3 separate regions of the Homo sapiens genome follow, and regions 2 and 3 are each linked to region 1. The links are contacts of gene promoters, found by promoter capture Hi-C in blood cells and fetal thymus (Javierre and others, 2016). All regions are on one chromosome and are shown on one strand. The core of a region is centred on a gene start or on the middle of the fragment in contact, and the rest is flanking DNA. Distances in the headings are between cores, read along the strand shown. Region 1 holds the start of PADI1 (peptidyl arginine deiminase 1). Region 2 overlaps PADI2 (peptidyl arginine deiminase 2). Region 3 overlaps SDHB (succinate dehydrogenase complex iron sulfur subunit B).

Region 1 (3,190 bases), core at 185-2,684:
TCCTGTATTTTTATTTGCTAAATCTGGCAAGCCTATGTTAACAGGGCAAGAGACAATGGGGTCTCTGCTGGCCACCTAGACCCGAGAGAACCAGCCCCCACAGCGGGGCTCCCAGCAGCAACTTAGAGTCAAGGTTTGGTTTCCATGGCTCCTGGTTTTCCTCCCCAGCCCTGCCACCGGGGTCACAGACCACTGCCCAACAGAGAAGCAGGAAGGGCTTCTCGAGCAGAGGATCACCAGAGGCCAGGTGGGCAGCTGGCCCTGGGCCCCACATACATTAACCAGACCAGCAGGTACAGGGGCTGAGTCCCAAGAGGGAGAAAGGAGCTCAGATCTCACCCAGTAACAGACCCCCAGCACCCAGCTCCTCTTTGAGGGAGACTCCCACCACGAGCCCCCTATCTGCAAGGGGTTCAGCCCCACCTGCTCCAGCAGGGATGGAATCCATAGACAGCCTCTCAGAGTTGGAAATGCCACCAGAGATCACCAAATCCAATTCCCTTAGTGGCCAGGTAGGGAAACTAAGGCTGAGTCCCCGAGTCCCCATCTGGACACAGCCAGCACAGGAAAGATTTGGGTCAACAGGAGAAGCAAATGCTACTGATGCCCCCTCAGATGTCATCATTGCCACCATCACCGCCATCATCGCCATCATCACTGTTCATCACCATAATCAGCGTCATCACCATCATCTCACAGCAAACATAAGTCCCAGCCGTCTTGCTCCAGGTTCTCTCTTCATATTAATTCATCGAGTATTTCCTAACCACTCCCTCCTGATTGGAATCAATCTAGTTATCTCTGGCTGACCTCCAAGGGTCAAGCTACCACACACGTCCCTTCACCTCAAAGAGATGGGGGCTTGGCAAGAAATTGAGGGAGGTGGGAACCAGTTCTCTTCCCCATCTTGAGCCATCTGATGTTCCACACAAGTTCTACCTAGGTGTCAGAATGCAGGGCCCAGACCCCAAAGCCTGACCCCAGGGCTCAGAGTTAGAAATCTAAGGCTGGACTCTTACCCAGGGGATTGAAGCCAATGTCCTGAGCCCAGTGCCCAGGAGCTGGGGCCCCAAGGAGGACCTGACTAGACCCTAGTTCCTTCCTTCCAGACTCCACAGCCAACTCCACCTTCTCTGCTATCTCCTGCCAGCATCCTTTCCAACGTGCCTGACTTGTCTACCAGGCACCCACCCCATTGACTTACACTCTAACCCAGCTCTCTGCAGCCAGGAGAGCGCCTCCCAGCTCTTACCTGTGAATGTCCACATGTGCCTCGACTCCCACCACACACACGGCATGGGTAGGCATCTTCAGGGACAGCTGCACAACTCTCTTTGGGGCCATCCTGTCACCTGGCTCCCAGCCTCCTAGATCAGCCCTGGCTCCCCAGCTCCCGTCCTGGGCACTTCTTTGCCAGGAAGAAGTGTGAGTTCTGATGGACTGGTGCCTCCTCCTCCCTTTAAATTTCACCCTGCGACCTGATTAGCCTGGCTGAGCCTGGTCCCCACCTCCTGGCTCCACACCCTCCTCACTCAGGGCTGTCAATCCAGGAGGTCAGGGGAGGAGGTGCCCAAGGCCTGTCTGGGAGATGGGGAAGGGGAGCTTCAACTGGGGGCCCCGGGCGAAGCAGGACTCACCTGCTGACAGGAGACCCTCCAGAGCTCCCCAGCAGCCTCTGCCCTCCCCTCCAAAGACTCCTGGTGCCTGAACCCCTATTACAATGATGTCAGTGTTTCTGTGGGCTGACTATGTGCGGGCTCTGCCTATAACCACCTGTGATCCTTATCAAACCTTTTAACCTCTCTGTGACTCAGCTGCCTCATGTGTAAGTTGGCAGCTGTAACAGTAGTACCTGTCCCATTGTGTTGATGTGGGAAAGACATGAGTTATGTGTAAGAAGATTAGCACAGCTCCTGGCACCTGTGTTCACTAAAACACTAACAATTATGACTTTTATCCTCATTTTGCAGGTAAGAGAACCATGGCTGCAGGTCTCACTGCTAGTAAGTGGTAGAGTTATAACTTCCACGCAGGTTCACCCGTCTCGCCACACAATACCACCCCCCAACAGGTGAGGGTAGGCCCTTGTGCCCAGACTCCACAGACAGCAGAAGCCACCCCAGGCAAGCATTCTTGGGGAGCCAGAGAGGAGGGAACTTGAAAAAGAGCTCAGAGCAATGACCTGGGAGCGTGGACTCATTTCTGAAAATCCCTCTTCTTTCAGCTCAGCACAGCAAGCTTCAGCCTGTTCTGAGGCTCTTTGTAGAACTTCATTTGTTAATTTGACAAGTGTTTGTTAATCATCTTTTATGTGTCAGGCACTCATTTAGGTGATAGGGATACAACTATGAACAAAAGAGACCATGATTCCTGCTCTGACGACATTTATATTCTGGGGGAGACAGACCGTAGGTGAAGTTAAATGAGTAAAGTGTGTATGACATCAGATGGTGCATTAAGGTTCTTCCCATTATCTAAGCGAGGGATGGCATGGCTTGGTCCCAGGGTAACAGGGAAGGTGGTGGGAAGTGGTTGGATCCTGAATGTATCTTGAAGGTAGAGCCGATGAGGTTTGCTGATGAGTTGGATGTGGGTGTGAGAGAGAGTGGTCAACGATCACTGGAGTATTTGGGACCCGAGCAACTAGAAGGATGGAGTTGTCATCAGAGAGATAGGGAAGGCTGCAGGAGGGCAAGCTGGGCAGGGAGCTTGGCCATTCTCTGTTGGACTTGTTCGACATGAGATGTCTGTTAGAGCTTGGGGTAGAGGTGGTGAATTGCAGGTGACGTGTTCCCTTCATATCGGGCATTGGGGGTGATGAGAAGAGCCGTTTGCTCTGGAATCGCAGGACACCCATCCTCAGTAATGTGGTCCTCTTCTTCCAGGGGGCTCTTATACAGAGTGGGAAAAGGGGCACATAAACCAGAACTCTAGTGTCCACAGGGCTGGGGTGGCAGGGCAGCAAAGAGCAAGAAAGAGAGAGAGAGAGAGAGAGAGAAACAGCCTTGCCTGAGGAGTTGTCAGTCTGATGGAAGATGTGGGGGACACACAGTCCCTGGCTGCAGGAACCCCAGCCTGATTAGGGAGGCAGGAAATAGTAAAATGGCATAAACATTTATTTGGTTACTTTTGATTTTGAAGATATTTTTGAAACCATCTTTCTTATTGCAAATGTTATTGATCTGCAAAG
Region 2 (3,690 bases), core at 551-3,050, 130 kb after region 1:
AATACAATTTAGGGACAGGAAGAAAAGTGGACTTTAGTGGGCAAAAGGCATGGTCAGACATCGTGGTTGTCAGTCCAGAAGTGAGACATTATCTTCTACGTTTAGACATTCACATAATTGGGACAGACATAGTCGGGATGAGGTTTGCATTTGAATTAATCACGGAAAGAGGGAAAGATGATCAGGTGGAGACAACCAGCCAGGTTAGAGACACCATGCCAATTCCTCATACTTCTTTTTTTTCTTTTTCAACTTCTATTTTAGATTTAGGGGGTACATGTGCAGGTTTGTTACCTGGGTGTATTGTGTGATTTGGGGTATGAATGATCCCATCACGCAGGTACTGAGCATAGTAGACAACAGTTAGTCATTCAACTCTTTCCCTCCTCTCTCCCTCCCCACTCTAATAGTCCCCAGTGTTTGCCATTGCCATCCTTATGTCCAACATGTTTTTTATTGTGATAAAATATACCTAATCTAACACATTTGTTATTTTAACCACTTGTAAGGACACAGTTCCGGGACATTAAATACATCTACAATGCTGACTAACCATCAGCACTCTCTATATCCGTTATACTTTTTTTTTTTTTTTTTGAGACACAGTCTCACTCTGTCGTCCAGGCTGGAGTGCAGTGGTGCCATCTCGGCTCACTGCAAGCTCCGCCTCCCAGGTTCAAGCCATTCTCCTGCCTCAGCCTCCCCAGTAGCTGGGATTACAGGCGCCCGCCACCACGCCCGGCTAATTTTTTGTATTTTTAGTAGAGGTGGGGTTTCACCATGTTAGCCGGGATGGTCTCAATCTCCTGACCTCATGAACCACCCGCCTCGGCCTCCCAAAGTGCTGGGATTACAGGCGTGAGCCACCATGCTCGGCCTATTTTTTTCTTAAATTACTTTTGTCACTTTTCAGGTTGGTATCCATAATATATCTCATGCCTGAAAGCCTGAGTTCCCGCAGCTGGTTGATACTTACATGACTGCCCCTCAGATCCAAAGACAGTGTTCCTGACTGTCACTGGTGTCTAGGACAGACAAGACCAATTTAACACCACCACCCTTTTTAAATTCCCCACTGATGGGAAGTTTGTTCTTGGATTGGCAAGCTTGAGTCCTGACTTCCTGGAGGCTTCCTCTCTAATATTAAACATACCCTCAAAAACTACCCATAGGATATAGGGACCATTATTTTTGTACAAATAGGGGCAAGCAGTGCCCCAGATTTCTCTTTGTATTTTAGAAAGAGAGATAGAGAGAAAATAGATAGAATACAGTTTGGGGACAGGAAGAAAACTGGACTTTGATGGACAGAAGGCATGGTCAGGCATCGTCATTGTCAGTTCAGGAGTGAAACATTATCTCCTGGACTTAGACATTCATGTAATTGGGACAGACAGAGAGAGGATGCGCGGATGTGCAGTCAGCAGAGAGTAGAAGCACATAGGAGACCTGGGGAGGAAGGTGAACCAGGCAATGCCAAAGAGCCAAGATCTCCGCTGGACCAGAGCCCACAATGTTTGGGGAAAACACATCCCTTTAAAAGATGATAAAAACTACAGACTTGCCCTCCAGAAAAATGCTTATATCAATCTATCTCCTGAACTTGGATCAGTTTTAGAAAATCACAGATCCCTAAAGTTTTCTGTTTCTACCTGGACCCTCCCTTCTGAGTCCCTAAGCCTCAAAGATTACATCCGGCTTGTAGCTGGGCATCTTTACTGCTGTCCAGTTATAAACCTGGGAAGTGCAATGGACCAGCAGTCTCTTCCCAGATGAGGCCAAAATAAATAAACAAATAATAGGTTAAGAGCATAGGCTCTGGAATCAGACTGCCTGATCTGCACACCAACTCTGCCGCTTGCTAGATGTAAGTCCTGAGACAAGTCACATAACTTCTCTGTGCCTCAGTTTCCTCATTTTTCAGGGTAGTGACTACCCCATAGAAATGTGGGGAGGATCCATGAGTTAATTCAATGTAAAGCGTTTAGAAGAGCGTCGGCCACATAGTAGGTGCTCATTGAGCATTAGGCATTACTAATCAAGCTGGAAGCCACATAAGCCATCGTGTGGTACAGGAGGAAAACGCAGGCCACTCCAGAGCAGCAGCCAAGATGAGGCAGCTCTGGAAAACAGGAAGGGTGTCCCCTTTGGCCATGCTGCTTCTGCCACATTCATGCTGGTCAGCTGCTCATCCTTAGGAGTAGGCTGTAGGTGGGAGAACCAGGGGGCTACTTGTAGCACCCCTGATCCCACTGGCCAAAGCAAGAGCAAGGCAGCTGCCACCACTGTCCTGGCTCAGATGTCATGGTCAACTCTGGAGAAAAGAGTGTGTGCTGCCCTCCCCAGACAGAGGGGGGCCTGATTTTGCCTGGGAGTGCCCTCCTGTGATCCAGCCTCTCCCCAGTCCCATCTCCCCAGTCCCAGTCCAGCAGTTAGCCCAGGCCTGGAGGATCTTGGCAAAAGGGGAACACTCAGCCTGGGTATCTAAAGCTTGACCATCCCCTGTCCTTTGAACCCCACAGGCTTGGGTGGGATGAGCAGCAAGCGAATCACCATCAACAAGATTCTGTCCAACGAGAGCCTTGTGCAGGAGAACCTGTACTTCCAGGTGAGGGCAGGGCAGGGGTGCAGGGCCAGAGGGCCCCTGGGAGGGATGAGGCTCAGGCCCTTACATCCTTGGGGCTTCCGTAGAGAATGGCCAAGGGCTCAGGAGCTCCTGACCCCGAGCACAGCAGCACAGGGAAGAGCCTCCACCAGCATCCAGCCAGCCTCCTTGCTTTGCTCCTGGGCTAAAGTCCCAGGGTTAAAGAAGTGCCAAATTGTGCCGCCCCCTCACTTGGGGAGGTAGGACCATGGGCAACTCACTAAGGCTGTCTTTGGGTCTCTCATCTCTAAAAAGGGGATAATGGGGGCCAGACACAGTGTCTCATGCCTGTAATCTCAGAACTTTGGGAAGCCAAGGCGGGAGGATTGCTTCAGGCCAGGGGCTTGAGACCAGCCTGGGCAACATAGTGAGACACTTGTCTCTACAAAAAAAATAAATAAAAACTTTGGCCGGGCCTGGTGGCTCATGCCTGTAATCCCAACTCTTTGGGAGACTGAGGTGGGCAGATCACCTGAGGTCAGGAGTTCAAGGCCAACATGCCCAACATGTTGAAACCCCATCTCTACCAAAAATACAAAAATTAGCCTGGCGTGGTGGCAGGCGCCTATAATCCCAGCTACTTGGGAGGCTGAGGCAGAAGAATCACTTGAACCCAGGAAGTGGAGGTTGCAGTGAACCGAGATCGTGCCACTGCACTCCGGCGTGGGCAACAGAGTGAGACTCAGTCTTAAAAAAAAAATTAAAAGGGAATAATAATAGCATCTATATTACAGGGCTGGAGCTTAAATAGGCAATCTATGTAATGCGCTTAGAACAGTACTAAGCACATGTACGCATTAGCTTTTGTTATTACCAAAATCATCAGTGTTATCCTCAGCTCATGGGGTGGCCCGAGGGGTCACTGAGGTGCTGTGTGGGAAGCACTTAGCACAGGGACCGGCTCTAGTGAGTGCTCAGGAAATGGCAGCTGCTGTTCTGGCATCTGTGACCTTCCTCTGTCCTATTACGACTGCTGTTCATGAACCCCGGTGGACAGGGCCAGGGAGAGGCTGCAGAGGCGCCCGCTGACTGCTAGAAGTCTCTCT
Region 3 (3,228 bases), core at 51-2,550, 170 kb after region 1:
TTTGGGAAGCTGAGGCAAAAGGATCACTTGAGGCCAAGAGTCCAAGACCAGCTTGGGCAACCTGTGAGACCTTGTCTCTACTAAAAAAATTTTTTCTTTGAAAAATTAGCCAGGCGTGGTGGCACATACCTGTAGTCCTAGCTACTTGGGATGCTGAAGCAGGAAGACAGCTTGAGCTTAGGAACTTGAGGCTGCTATGAGCTATAATTGTGCCACTGTACTCCAACCTGGGCAGCAGAGTAAGACCATGCATGGGTGAGTGGATGGATGGATGTAACACACATGTAATTGGACTTCCAGAAAAAATGGAGAGAAAGAAAAGGCAAAATAAATATCTATTTGAAGAACTCATGGCCAAGAATTTCCTGAGCCCATGAAAGACATAATTCACATATCCAAGAAGCTTAGTGAACCCCAACTAGGTAAATAAAAATAAAACTATGCCCTGTTCCATGAAGTCAAGTTGCTGACGACCAAAAATAGGAGAAAATCTTGAAAGCAGCTGGAGAAAAACAACATGTTACATACAAGGAAACCAGGTGAAAAATTGCTGACTTCTCATCAGAAACTAGAGGCCAAGAGACAGTGAAATACCATCTTTAAAGTACTAAAAGAAAAATTGTCAGCCTGGAATTCCACGTTCAGAAAAAAAGATTCTTCAAGATGATTATGAAATAAAAACATTTTCAGGTAAACAGAAAAGAAAAGAATTCATGGCCAGAAGACCAGTACTACATGAAATGCTATAGGAAGTTAGTCAGGCTGAGGAAAAATAATACCAGGTGGAAACTTGGCTCTTAGAAAAGGAATGAAGAGCGCTGGACATAGTAGATATAAAAGGATTTTTCCTCTTAATTTTGTTAAAATTAATATGACTGTTTAAAGCAAAGTTATTATATTATATTCTGTAATATATAACTCACATAGATGTAAGGCATATGATAACTATAGCGTAGGGGCTGGGAACAGCAGGTAAATAGACCTATAATAATGTAGCAGGATTCTTGCATTACATAAAGTTGCACAATAGTAACTCTAAACAGGTATAAAGAGTTAAAGATGTAAATTATGTAAAGTATAATTCTAGAGTAACTTTTTTTCTTCTTCTGAGACAGGGCCTCACTCTGTCATCCAGGCTGGAAGGCAGTAGCACAATCATGGCTCACTAAACCCTCCCAGGCTCAACCAAGCAATCCTCCCTCCCTGAGACCTCCTAGGCTCAAGCAATCCTCCCACCTCAGCCTCCCATGTCCCTGGGACTACAGGCATGTACCACTATGCCTGGCCAATTTTTTTTTTTTTTTTTTTTTTGTAGAGACAGGGTCTCACTATGTTGCCCACACTGGTCTCCTGGGCTCAAGCAGTCCTCCTGCATCAGCCTTCCAAAGTGCTAGGATTACAGGTGTGAGCCACCATGCCCAGCCAAGAGTAATTATTTTTTTAAATGCAAAGAGATATAGCTAAAAAGCCAATATATAAATTAAAATTGATTTCTAAAAATATTTACTTAGTCTAAAAATATTACTTAGAATAAGAAAAGAAGAAGAGAACAGCAGCAAAATGATGGAACAAATAGTAAAATGATAGACCTAAATCCGGCCACGTCAATAACTGTATTGAATGTAAAAACTATTAAATACTCCCAGTTAAAAAGCCAACAGTGTCAGAATAGATTTTTTTAAAAAAAGCAAAACCCAACCATATGCTGTTTTAAGTGCAAGAAAAAGCGCAAGAAAAAATAAAGAAATACATTTGAAAATCAATGTGATTCACCATATTAACAGAATAAAGGGGGAAAACCCATTTGATTGCTTTAATATATGCAGAAAAGCATTTGGCAAGATTCAACACTCATTCATGATTTTTAAAAATGATAATGGGTTAAATAATTTTCACAGTGTGTATATTTTAACAGAATAAATAAATAAAACTATAAGGAATTTGAATTAAAAGGAATAGTCCTAATTTTACTTAAATAATAACTGCTAATAGGAAAAGAAGGGAACTTCATCAGCCAGATGAAGACTGTGAAAATCACAGCTAATAGCATACTTTATTGTGAGATATTGAACACTTTCCCCATAAGATCAGGAATAAGGAAGGTTGTCCACTCTGTATTTGAGTTCAACATTGTACTGAAGGTTCTAGCCAGTCCATGAAAGGCAAGTAAAAGAAGTAGAAGGCATATGTAAGCTTGGAAAGGAAGAAATTAAACTAACTGTAGTCACAGGTAACATGATTGTTTACATAGAAAATTTCAGGGAGTCTACAAAACTAAAAGAATAAGTAAATTTAGCAAGGCTGCAGGATGTAAGGTCAATATGCAAAATACTATTTGTGTGTGTGTGTATTTCAATGGCTACAGATAATTCTATTTATGCTAACATCAGCCATTCAAAATTTTACTGGAGGCTTAGCCAGGGAAATTGGGTGAGAAAAAGAAAGAAAAGGAAATTGGAAAAGAAGAAGTAAAACTGTCTCTCATAGATAACATAATCTTTTACACAAAACCTTGGGCAGGCTCAGTGGCTTGTGCTTATAATCCCAGCATTTTGGAAGGCTGAAGCAGGAGAATTTTTTTTTTTTGAGACAGAGTTTTCGCTCTTGTTGCCCAGGCTGGAGTGCAATGGCACAATCTTGGCTCACCGCAACCTCCGCCTCCCGGATTCAAGCAATTCTCCTGTCTCAGCTTCCCAAGTAGCTGGGATTACAGGCGCCTGCCACTACGCCCAGCTAATTCTTTTGTATTTTTGGTGGAGATGGGGTTTCTGCGTGTTGGTCAGGCTGGTCTCGAACTCCTGACCTCAGGTGATCTGCCCACCTCGGCCTCCCAAAGTGCTGGGATTGCAGGTGTGAGCCACTGTGCCTGGCCTGAAGCAGGAGAATTGCTTGAGCCTGGGAGTTGGAGACCAGCCTGGGCAACAAAATGAGACCCCCATCTCTACAAAAAAGCAAACAAAAAATTAGCCAGGCTGGGTGCGATGGCTCACGCCTGTAATCCCAACATTCTGAGAGGCCAAAGCAGGCAGATGACTTGAGTCCAGGAGTTCAAGACCACCCTGGACAACATGGCAAAACCCTGTCTCTACTAAAAATACAAAAATTAGCCAGGCATGGTAGCACACACCTGTAATCCCAGCTTCTTGGAAGGCTAAGGCACAAGAATTGCTTGAACCTAGGTGGCAGAGGTTGCAGTGAGCCAAGATCACGCCACTGCACTCCAGCCTG

What was found. The method cuts DNA at HindIII sites, captures the fragments that hold promoters and counts their contacts. A CHiCAGO score of 5 or more calls a contact.
Region 2: a fragment that was not itself captured here is called in contact with the fragment with the promoter of PADI1 in region 1 in 1 of 17 cell types (monocytes); the score reaches 7.1 in monocytes.
Region 3: a contact is called between a fragment that was not itself captured here and the fragment with the promoter of PADI1 in region 1, in 1 of 17 cell types (neutrophils). The highest score is 5.9, in neutrophils.

Annotation. Positions count from the first base shown.
Region 1 is chr1:17,203,372-17,206,561 of GRCh38, reverse strand. It overlaps PADI1 (peptidyl arginine deiminase 1), which reads right to left and starts at 1,434. Exons shown (of 16, transcript NM_013358.3): 1 at 1,253-1,434. The coding sequence starts at 1,344. The HindIII fragment of the contact is 2,277 bases long and covers 1-2,240 here.
Region 2 is chr1:17,070,324-17,074,013 of GRCh38, reverse strand. It overlaps PADI2 (peptidyl arginine deiminase 2), which reads left to right. Exons shown (of 16, transcript NM_007365.3): 14 at 2,523-2,608. Among named protein-coding and RNA genes, the nearest start is that of SDHB, 18 kb to the right of the region's middle. The HindIII fragment of the contact is 1,384 bases long and covers 1,109-2,492 here.
Region 3 is chr1:17,037,499-17,040,726 of GRCh38, reverse strand. The region is part of intron 2 of SDHB (succinate dehydrogenase complex iron sulfur subunit B); the gene reads left to right. Among named protein-coding and RNA genes, the nearest start is that of SDHB, 15 kb to the left of the region's middle. The HindIII fragment of the contact is 1,790 bases long and covers 406-2,195 here.